2 separate regions of the Homo sapiens genome follow, and region 2 is linked to region 1. Evidence: promoter capture Hi-C in 16 types of primary human blood cells and fetal thymus (Javierre and others, 2016). All regions are on one chromosome and are shown on one strand. The core of a region is centred on a gene start or on the middle of the fragment in contact, and the rest is flanking DNA. Distances in the headings are between cores, read along the strand shown.

Region 1 (3,957 bases), core at 948-3,447:
AACAATTTATCCCCTCCATGAATGAGTCTCCCTGCTGCAGGCATGAAGATGGTGGTAGCTTTCAGACTCTCCTGAGGATTCAGAAATTCCCCAACCCTTCTCCCACCTACCTCACTCTGCAAGCTAGGAGAGCTCACCACCAAGCCCACATCCCACCTTAGGTGAGACTCGCACTGCACATCCCTACCCTTCCCCAGCCACCACACCTTTCCAACCATTAGAGGTAGATGTAATTGGGGGTTTAGGTCTTGAAAGGTTTCACTGTGGCTTCCCACATATTTTGGACTTTTAAAATCATCCACAAGGGAAGAAAAAGTTGAGGGCCAAGTTGCCTTTAATACACATGTGGCTATTAAGTTAACTTGGAATGTTCCTTCTTTAAATAGGAACTCTTAGGCCTCTTCTTTTTGAGGAATGCTTGGAAAGGACATTAAATAACAATGACGAAAATTCTTCCTGAGCTTCAGAGGGCACCCCCACCCCTTTGCTGGCCATTCACACTATTGACATGCAACTACACTCTATAACATGTGGCTGGCTTAACGAGGTAATCGTGCACAGATGATATGCTCTATGCTGAAGTTGGAGTGGTTATATTTCTTCTTGGCTATTTTTCAACAGACTGTACTGAAACTTTAAAAATTTGATCAGTTTAAACAGGCTGTTTTCAAATGATAAATCTATAATGCATTGTTTCTAAAGCCGATCTTTGCACCACAAACAGATATGCTTATCTTGAACCCATGCTCTGAAGCATCAACAACTTAAAGGAATCTACTCATTGGTAACACCAATGTCAAATGATGCGGCATTACAGAATACAAAAATGGTATGGCCCTAGAATCACTCTCTTTATATAAAATGGGAACTGGAGGTATTAACAAAAAAGCCACTAAACAACATAGATTCCAAATGAAAGCACAGTGAATTAGTTGGGTCTTTAGTGAAGCTAAGTAGCACTATATTAAGAAATGGAGATATGCTTAGGTTTATTGGCCATATTCAACATCTGCACACACCCAGGGAGAATAAAGCCTATTCTTTCCTTGTCCTGACCTCACTCCCTCAGGCTGCATGTTCCTTGGGTAATGAGAAGTCACAATCACTATTCATAGATGTGTGGGGAGTCACTAAAAATATATTATTCACTGTCAATCTTAGTTTATATCCAGATACAACAGGGTACACTGCTCTTGTAATGGAATCAGACTTCTTATTTTAACAAGACAAACCAAATCCAATCCACATTTGAAGATTATAGGTTTTAATATAAGAAAATGCACTCATTTCTCAAAGACCCTAGTGAAGCTGTGTTTAAATGCTCCTAGGTGAACCCCCTTTGCATCCCAGTGTTCCCACCCTGACACCCAGAGCCCCTACCTACCCAACACAGAATCATTTGCTCTGATAGAACAATGGATCCCTTTTTCTGGAAACATTGATGGCCACTCCTCCCTTGTCCTTGCCTATATAAAACTCCTACATATATTAAGAGAAAACTAAGCAAGAGTTTTGGAAATCTGCCCCAGGAGACTGCATCCTGAGTCACACGCGTCTTTGTTCTCTTTCTTGTCCCAAAACCGTTACCTCAAGTGACAAATGATCAAATCTCAAATATAGAATTCAGGGTTTTACAGGTAGGCATCTTGAGGATTTCAAATGGTTAAAAGCAACTCACTCCTTTTCTACTCTTTGGAGAGTTTCAAGAGCCTATAGCCTCTAAAACGCAAATCATTGCTAAGGGTTGGGGGGGAGAAACCTTTTCGAATTTTTTAGGAATTCCTGCTGTTTGCCTCTTCAGCTACCTACTTCCTAAAAAGGATGTATGTCAGTGGACAGAACAGGGCAAACTTATTCGAAAAAGAAATAAGAAATAATTGCCAGTGTGTTTATAAATGATATGAATCAGGAGTGGTGCGAAGAGGATAGGGAAAAAAAAATTCTATTTGGTGCTGGAAATACTGCGCTTTTTTTTTTCCTTTTTTTTTTTTTCTGTGAGCTGGAGTGTGCCAGCTTTTTCAGACGGAGGAATGCTGAGTGTCAAGGGGTCAGGATCAATCCGGTGTGAGTTGATGAGGCAGGAAGGTGGGGAGGAATGCGAGGAATGTCCCTGTTTGTGTAGGACTCCATTCAGCTCATTGGCGAGCCGCGGCCGCCCGGAGCGTATAAAAGCCTCGGGCCGCCCGCCCCAAACTCACACAACAACTCTTCCCCGCTGAGAGGAGACAGCCAGTGCGACTCCACCCTCCAGCTCGACGGCAGCCGCCCCGGCCGACAGCCCCGAGACGACAGCCCGGCGCGTCCCGGTCCCCACCTCCGACCACCGCCAGCGCTCCAGGCCCCGCCGCTCCCCGCTCGCCGCCACCGCGCCCTCCGCTCCGCCCGCAGTGCCAACCATGACCGCCGCCAGTATGGGCCCCGTCCGCGTCGCCTTCGTGGTCCTCCTCGCCCTCTGCAGCCGGGTAAGCGCCGGGAGCCCCCGCTGCGGCCGGCGGCTGCCAGGGAGGGACTCGGGGCCGGCCGGGGAGGGCGTGCGCGCCGACCGAGCGCCGCTGACCGCCCTGTCCTCCCTGCAGCCGGCCGTCGGCCAGAACTGCAGCGGGCCGTGCCGGTGCCCGGACGAGCCGGCGCCGCGCTGCCCGGCGGGCGTGAGCCTCGTGCTGGACGGCTGCGGCTGCTGCCGCGTCTGCGCCAAGCAGCTGGGCGAGCTGTGCACCGAGCGCGACCCATGCGACCCGCACAAGGGCCTATTCTGTCACTTCGGCTCCCCGGCCAACCGCAAGATCGGCGTGTGCACCGGTAAGACCCGCAGCCCCCACCGCTAGGTGTCCGGCCGCCTCCTCCCTCACGCCCACCCGCCCGCTGGAAAAAGAAACCGCTCGGACTGAGTTTCTTTCTCCAGCTGCTGCCAGCCCGCCCCCTGCAGCCCAGATCCCAACTCGCATCCCTGACGCTCTGGATGTGAGAGTGCCCCAATGCCTGACCTCTGCATCCCCCACCCCTCTCTTCCCTTCCTCTTCTCCAGCCAAAGATGGTGCTCCCTGCATCTTCGGTGGTACGGTGTACCGCAGCGGAGAGTCCTTCCAGAGCAGCTGCAAGTACCAGTGCACGTGCCTGGACGGGGCGGTGGGCTGCATGCCCCTGTGCAGCATGGACGTTCGTCTGCCCAGCCCTGACTGCCCCTTCCCGAGGAGGGTCAAGCTGCCCGGGAAATGCTGCGAGGAGTGGGTGTGTGACGAGCCCAAGGACCAAACCGTGGTTGGGCCTGCCCTCGCGGGTGAGTCGAGTCTTCCTCTAAGTCAGGGTCGTGATTCTCTCCCAGGGAGGGAGTCCTAACTGTGCCGACCGAACGGGGGAAATACCTTATCCAGGCGTTTTACATGGTGTTTGTGTGCTCTGCTCTCGCAGCTTACCGACTGGAAGACACGTTTGGCCCAGACCCAACTATGATTAGAGCCAACTGCCTGGTCCAGACCACAGAGTGGAGCGCCTGTTCCAAGACCTGTGGGATGGGCATCTCCACCCGGGTTACCAATGACAACGCCTCCTGCAGGCTAGAGAAGCAGAGCCGCCTGTGCATGGTCAGGCCTTGCGAAGCTGACCTGGAAGAGAACATTAAGGTACATGTTCTGCTCCTATTAACTATTTTTCACAGGAAAAACAGTGGATAGGACCCAACTTAGGGCTCTTGCCACGCTTGTTAGTATAAGCCCGTTATCTCCAAAACTATCTAACCATTGAGCTGTTTTGCTGGAATGAGAGCTTGTGTAATAGCAACCACCAGTTTTCCACTACGAAATCTTCCACAGGGTTAGTTAATTCAAGACATTCCAAGAGAGGCTCTGGCTATTTTTGGACATAGCAAATGAGACTCAAACTTCCTCCCCTCAAAATATAAACAGAAGTCAGACAACAGAAGACTAAAACACAGAGGGTTGAAGAAAGCCACTCCTCTTG
Region 2 (3,861 bases), core at 428-2,927, 280 kb before region 1:
AGACTTGTAAAACTTTTCAATAATTTAAAAATTTTACTAAAATGTAGCCATTTGGAATTTACAAGTAGCTGGTAAAAATCCTCCTAGGAAAATGTCCTGTTGTTGAAGATGGCATCAAGAAAAGACAGACAAAAATCCTTTCCTCATAGAGTTTGCATTCTAGGAAGGCGAGAGCACAGACCATGTGTGAGCGTAGTTCTATCACAAAACCATGGTCCTGAAATTTAGCAGTTTGAATACTTTTTTTTTTTCCAAAGATAAACATAGGACAGTCATGATATTAAATTATTTTAAATTCTTTTTAGGCATTCCAAAGAACATGATTTTGAAAAAAATCTTAAGATCAAAGTTTTATTATTTTGTTTTTTTCCCAGCCCAAAATAAGAAACGAATGAAAGAAACTGTAGTAACTGCCTGCCTATCAGAGCTCCGCATCTCATTTTTTGGCTCCACAGCTAGGCCTGCACTGTGCTCTTATTTGTCCTTTCATCAGTGTTTACGGTCTTTATTTAGATTTGCTGTTTTTAGTGCTTCGGGAGACAGATGTGGGAGGATTGCTTTAAGTCAGAAGTTTGGGACCAGCCTGGGCAACATAGTGAGACTCCATCTCTATGAAAAATTTAAATATTAATTGGATGTGGTCTTGTGTGCACCTGCAGTCATACCTACTCAGGAGGCTGAGGTGGGAGGATCACTTGAGTGACCATGCCACTGCACTCCAGCCTGGATGACAAGGCAAGATTCAGCCCCTAAAAAAAAAAAAAAGGCTTTGCTGTTTTGGTTGACAACTCAGAATTATGTTAAATAATCAAGCAATTTATTAGTTATTTCTGTTAAATTACCTAATCATTTTGACCACTATGTGAACCAATGAATTTCTTGCTCATAAATTAGTTTGTCGTGTTCAGAACACATTAGTCAGGCAGTCTATGAGAATACTGTCTTGCTTCACTGAACTCTGGGACATCAAAATAAAGTTGCTCCTCAACAAATTTGAGTTACTTATTGCTGCCCCATCTGTTAATAGGAGTAAAAAGACTATTGTTGAAGAATTGGCTATTAACAGTTCCAAATCCATTGCAGAGGCCAGTGGTCAAACAAACTTGAGCCCCTTTACATAGGATAACTGCGTCTGTGAATCTCTCTTTATGTATCTGGGGTTAATTTGGTGCTAGGATCGCTCCACCTGCTGAAAAAAAAAAAAAGAATCCAAGCTGTGATACCACACACCTCCTTGACCCCAGGTTTAGTCATAGGTCCCTATTACAGTCAGATTTTCCCTTCTAATAGTTCTAGAATAAGTTACTATGTCTACTACTACTACTACTGGTAGACATAGTCCCCTAGACCTTAAAATGAGCTAACTTTTATGCAAAGGCCAATCTCAGGGAAAGAACTCTCCCATGCCCTCCCTTGATGTGCAGATCCCACCAGGTGGACCGCGGGTCTAACTCTTTGCCCAATGAAGGACATAAGCAATTTGAAGGAGGATTGAGGAGGCCACAAATATTCTAGAGATATGGAAATTTTCTCAGAACCAAGTAAGACTTTCTAAATATCCCCTGTAATCTGGAGAGTCTAAGGTCAATTAAATATTCCCAGGTCTAGAAGATGACCCAAGACCCAGGCTTCTGCTTAGATGTTAATTTCATGGTTCAGGCATGAGTAGTTCTGGATGCCTATCAAAGTTCTGCAACTATTTATGAAAACTTTGCCATGAAATTTGCTCTTCTATGCCCTTCATTTATAAAATACTTGCATGGTTTTTATGGAGATTTGTCGGCTAATGAATAAATTTTAAAAGTGCTTGGCTTTGTACTCACTAATAATTGGCATATTACTAATCAATTTAGGCACAATTTTATTTTGTGCCAGGCTTTCAGCTCCAGAGTGAATGTTATCTAAAGCCATGTATTTCAAACTATTCATGATACAAAGCTAGGTAGTAATAATTATGAAATAATTTACATTAATACAGTAGAATAGACTAGAACATATTCAAGAGCACCACGTAATTATAAGCATGTGTATTATTCCCTGAAAAATTTGTTTCAGATTATATATGTGGAATCTGATATAAAATATGTTTCTTAATATGAGTCATATGCTACAAGCTAGAAAAACACTGATTAAAAGTTTACTCTTTTAAATCATTTTGTTTAATCTGATAGAAACTAACCTGTGCTCTTGGTGGAAAGGAGAGGTCCATCATGCAAAATACTGAATATCCTAGCAGCTTTTATTCTGATCTTGTTAACATGAATTTGCCAGTAGTTTAGTGATTTTAAAAAATGGATGAGCCTCTAGGTGGGAATTATATTAAGTGATTTAGCTTTGCACTAGCCAATGGTTTAACAAGATTGGCCCAGAGTCTGTAAGTTTATTGCTTAAAATCAGTTATCTTGTGCCAAATGTACCCTTCCAAGAAGAAAGCATTATGACATAAATCACATTGATTCCCTGAGATTGTAGCCAGACTGCATTGTTGTAATGATAGTACAGATATACGGTTGGTGAAAAATATCTTTTAAAAAATGAGCAGATAAAAATCGATTCTTCTTCCTTTCTGTGCTCAGAAATCTGTTGCATATAATGTAACAATACTGCTTTATAAAATTAGCTTCACCTGTCTTGCGTTAACTATATCCAGCAGATGAAAGGAATTCCTAATGAAATGGTTAAAACCAATTGAATAAACATTCTTGGTAACTAATGACAACAGTCCAAGAATATAGGGACCTGATTCTTTCATTTTCCCAGCTCCAGGGAATTAAAGTCTCACATAACATGGGTTTCTCTCAGTGTTTTCCACTCCAACAGAAGTTTCCTTTGTAAGACTTCTGCAAATAGCATACCGATGGGTAAAGAAACAGCTTTTTAAAAATCTGTTCTGTTTTTCCCCCAGATTTTTCAAATATATTAACTTTGGTTTCAACTCATCTTTCCCACAGAAAAAGTGGGGGGGAAAGTGCTTGTTTTCATCTGGCCTGGGCTGCAATGTTTTCCTTCAGAACAGAGAGAAGTTGAGAGGGCATCTGTCTGGGTCACAAAGACAGATCTCAGCTGTATTTTCCAATGTGCAGGTAGGTGGTCTCAGTGTCTTTGGCAGAATACAGAAGTCAGATAATAAAATGACTCCAGGGACAGAGTACCCTTGTCAACCTGCCATCAAAGACTGTAGTTTCTCCTCTGCTAGCATGACAGGGTTGTTCTCTTCAATGTTGCAAACCTTCAGAAAACCCCAAACTTTGTAGAGTAAGGAATTCCAAATGAGTCCCTCCTTGAAAAAAACAGAAAAGAAAAAAATTCTTTAAGACATGTGTAGACCACATCAGTGATACATGAACCACAGCTGAATTTTATAAATGTCTTGTGAACAACACAAGACATTTATAAATGTCACATGGGACATATCAGTGACCCATAGCTATGGTAAACAGCTGTTGAGAGAATCATATGCCAACCACAGAAAAGACATGCAAAACACTAGATCTACACAAGCTAGGTTGACTAATGCAACTGATAAGGTGTAAAATTCTGCCAATCATTCCATTCATAGGCGTGAAGCCATGAAACCTTATGATCAATTAAATCAGATCTATCATACTATTTTGCAGAAATCTTCTATAACATTTATATATTTAGAGATTCCTGATTATGCAAATTGTGGCCAATGACATGTTAGTGGCTTGGGGAAGGTACTAGATAGCCTTAACTAGCTAGTTCTATGTGAAATAACCAAGTTATTTCATATTCATTAGCATATCCATATGAGAATACATTTCTTTCATCCTATTTACTTTAGCTTCATTTCCATATGCTATTTTTTAAATATATGGCAAAAAGAGAAAGCAAACAAAC

Evidence for each region. The method cuts DNA at HindIII sites, captures the fragments that hold promoters and counts their contacts. A CHiCAGO score of 5 or more calls a contact.
Region 2: a fragment that was not itself captured here is called in contact with the fragment with the promoter of CCN2 in region 1 in 2 of 17 cell types (megakaryocytes and endothelial precursors); the score reaches 6.5 in megakaryocytes.

Annotation. Positions count from the first base shown.
Region 1 is chr6:131,949,612-131,953,568 of GRCh38, reverse strand. It overlaps CCN2 (cellular communication network factor 2), which reads left to right and starts at 2,197. Exons shown (of 5, transcript NM_001901.4): 1 at 2,197-2,462; 2 at 2,577-2,799; 3 at 3,026-3,277; 4 at 3,409-3,620. The coding sequence starts at 2,397. The region is part of intron 2 of CCN2-AS1 (CCN2 antisense RNA 1); the gene reads right to left. The HindIII fragment of the contact is 12,519 bases long and covers 1-3,957 here.
Region 2 is chr6:132,230,220-132,234,080 of GRCh38, reverse strand. No RefSeq gene overlaps it. Among named protein-coding and RNA genes, the nearest start is that of LINC01013, 100 kb to the right of the region's middle. The HindIII fragment of the contact is 6,063 bases long and covers 1-3,861 here.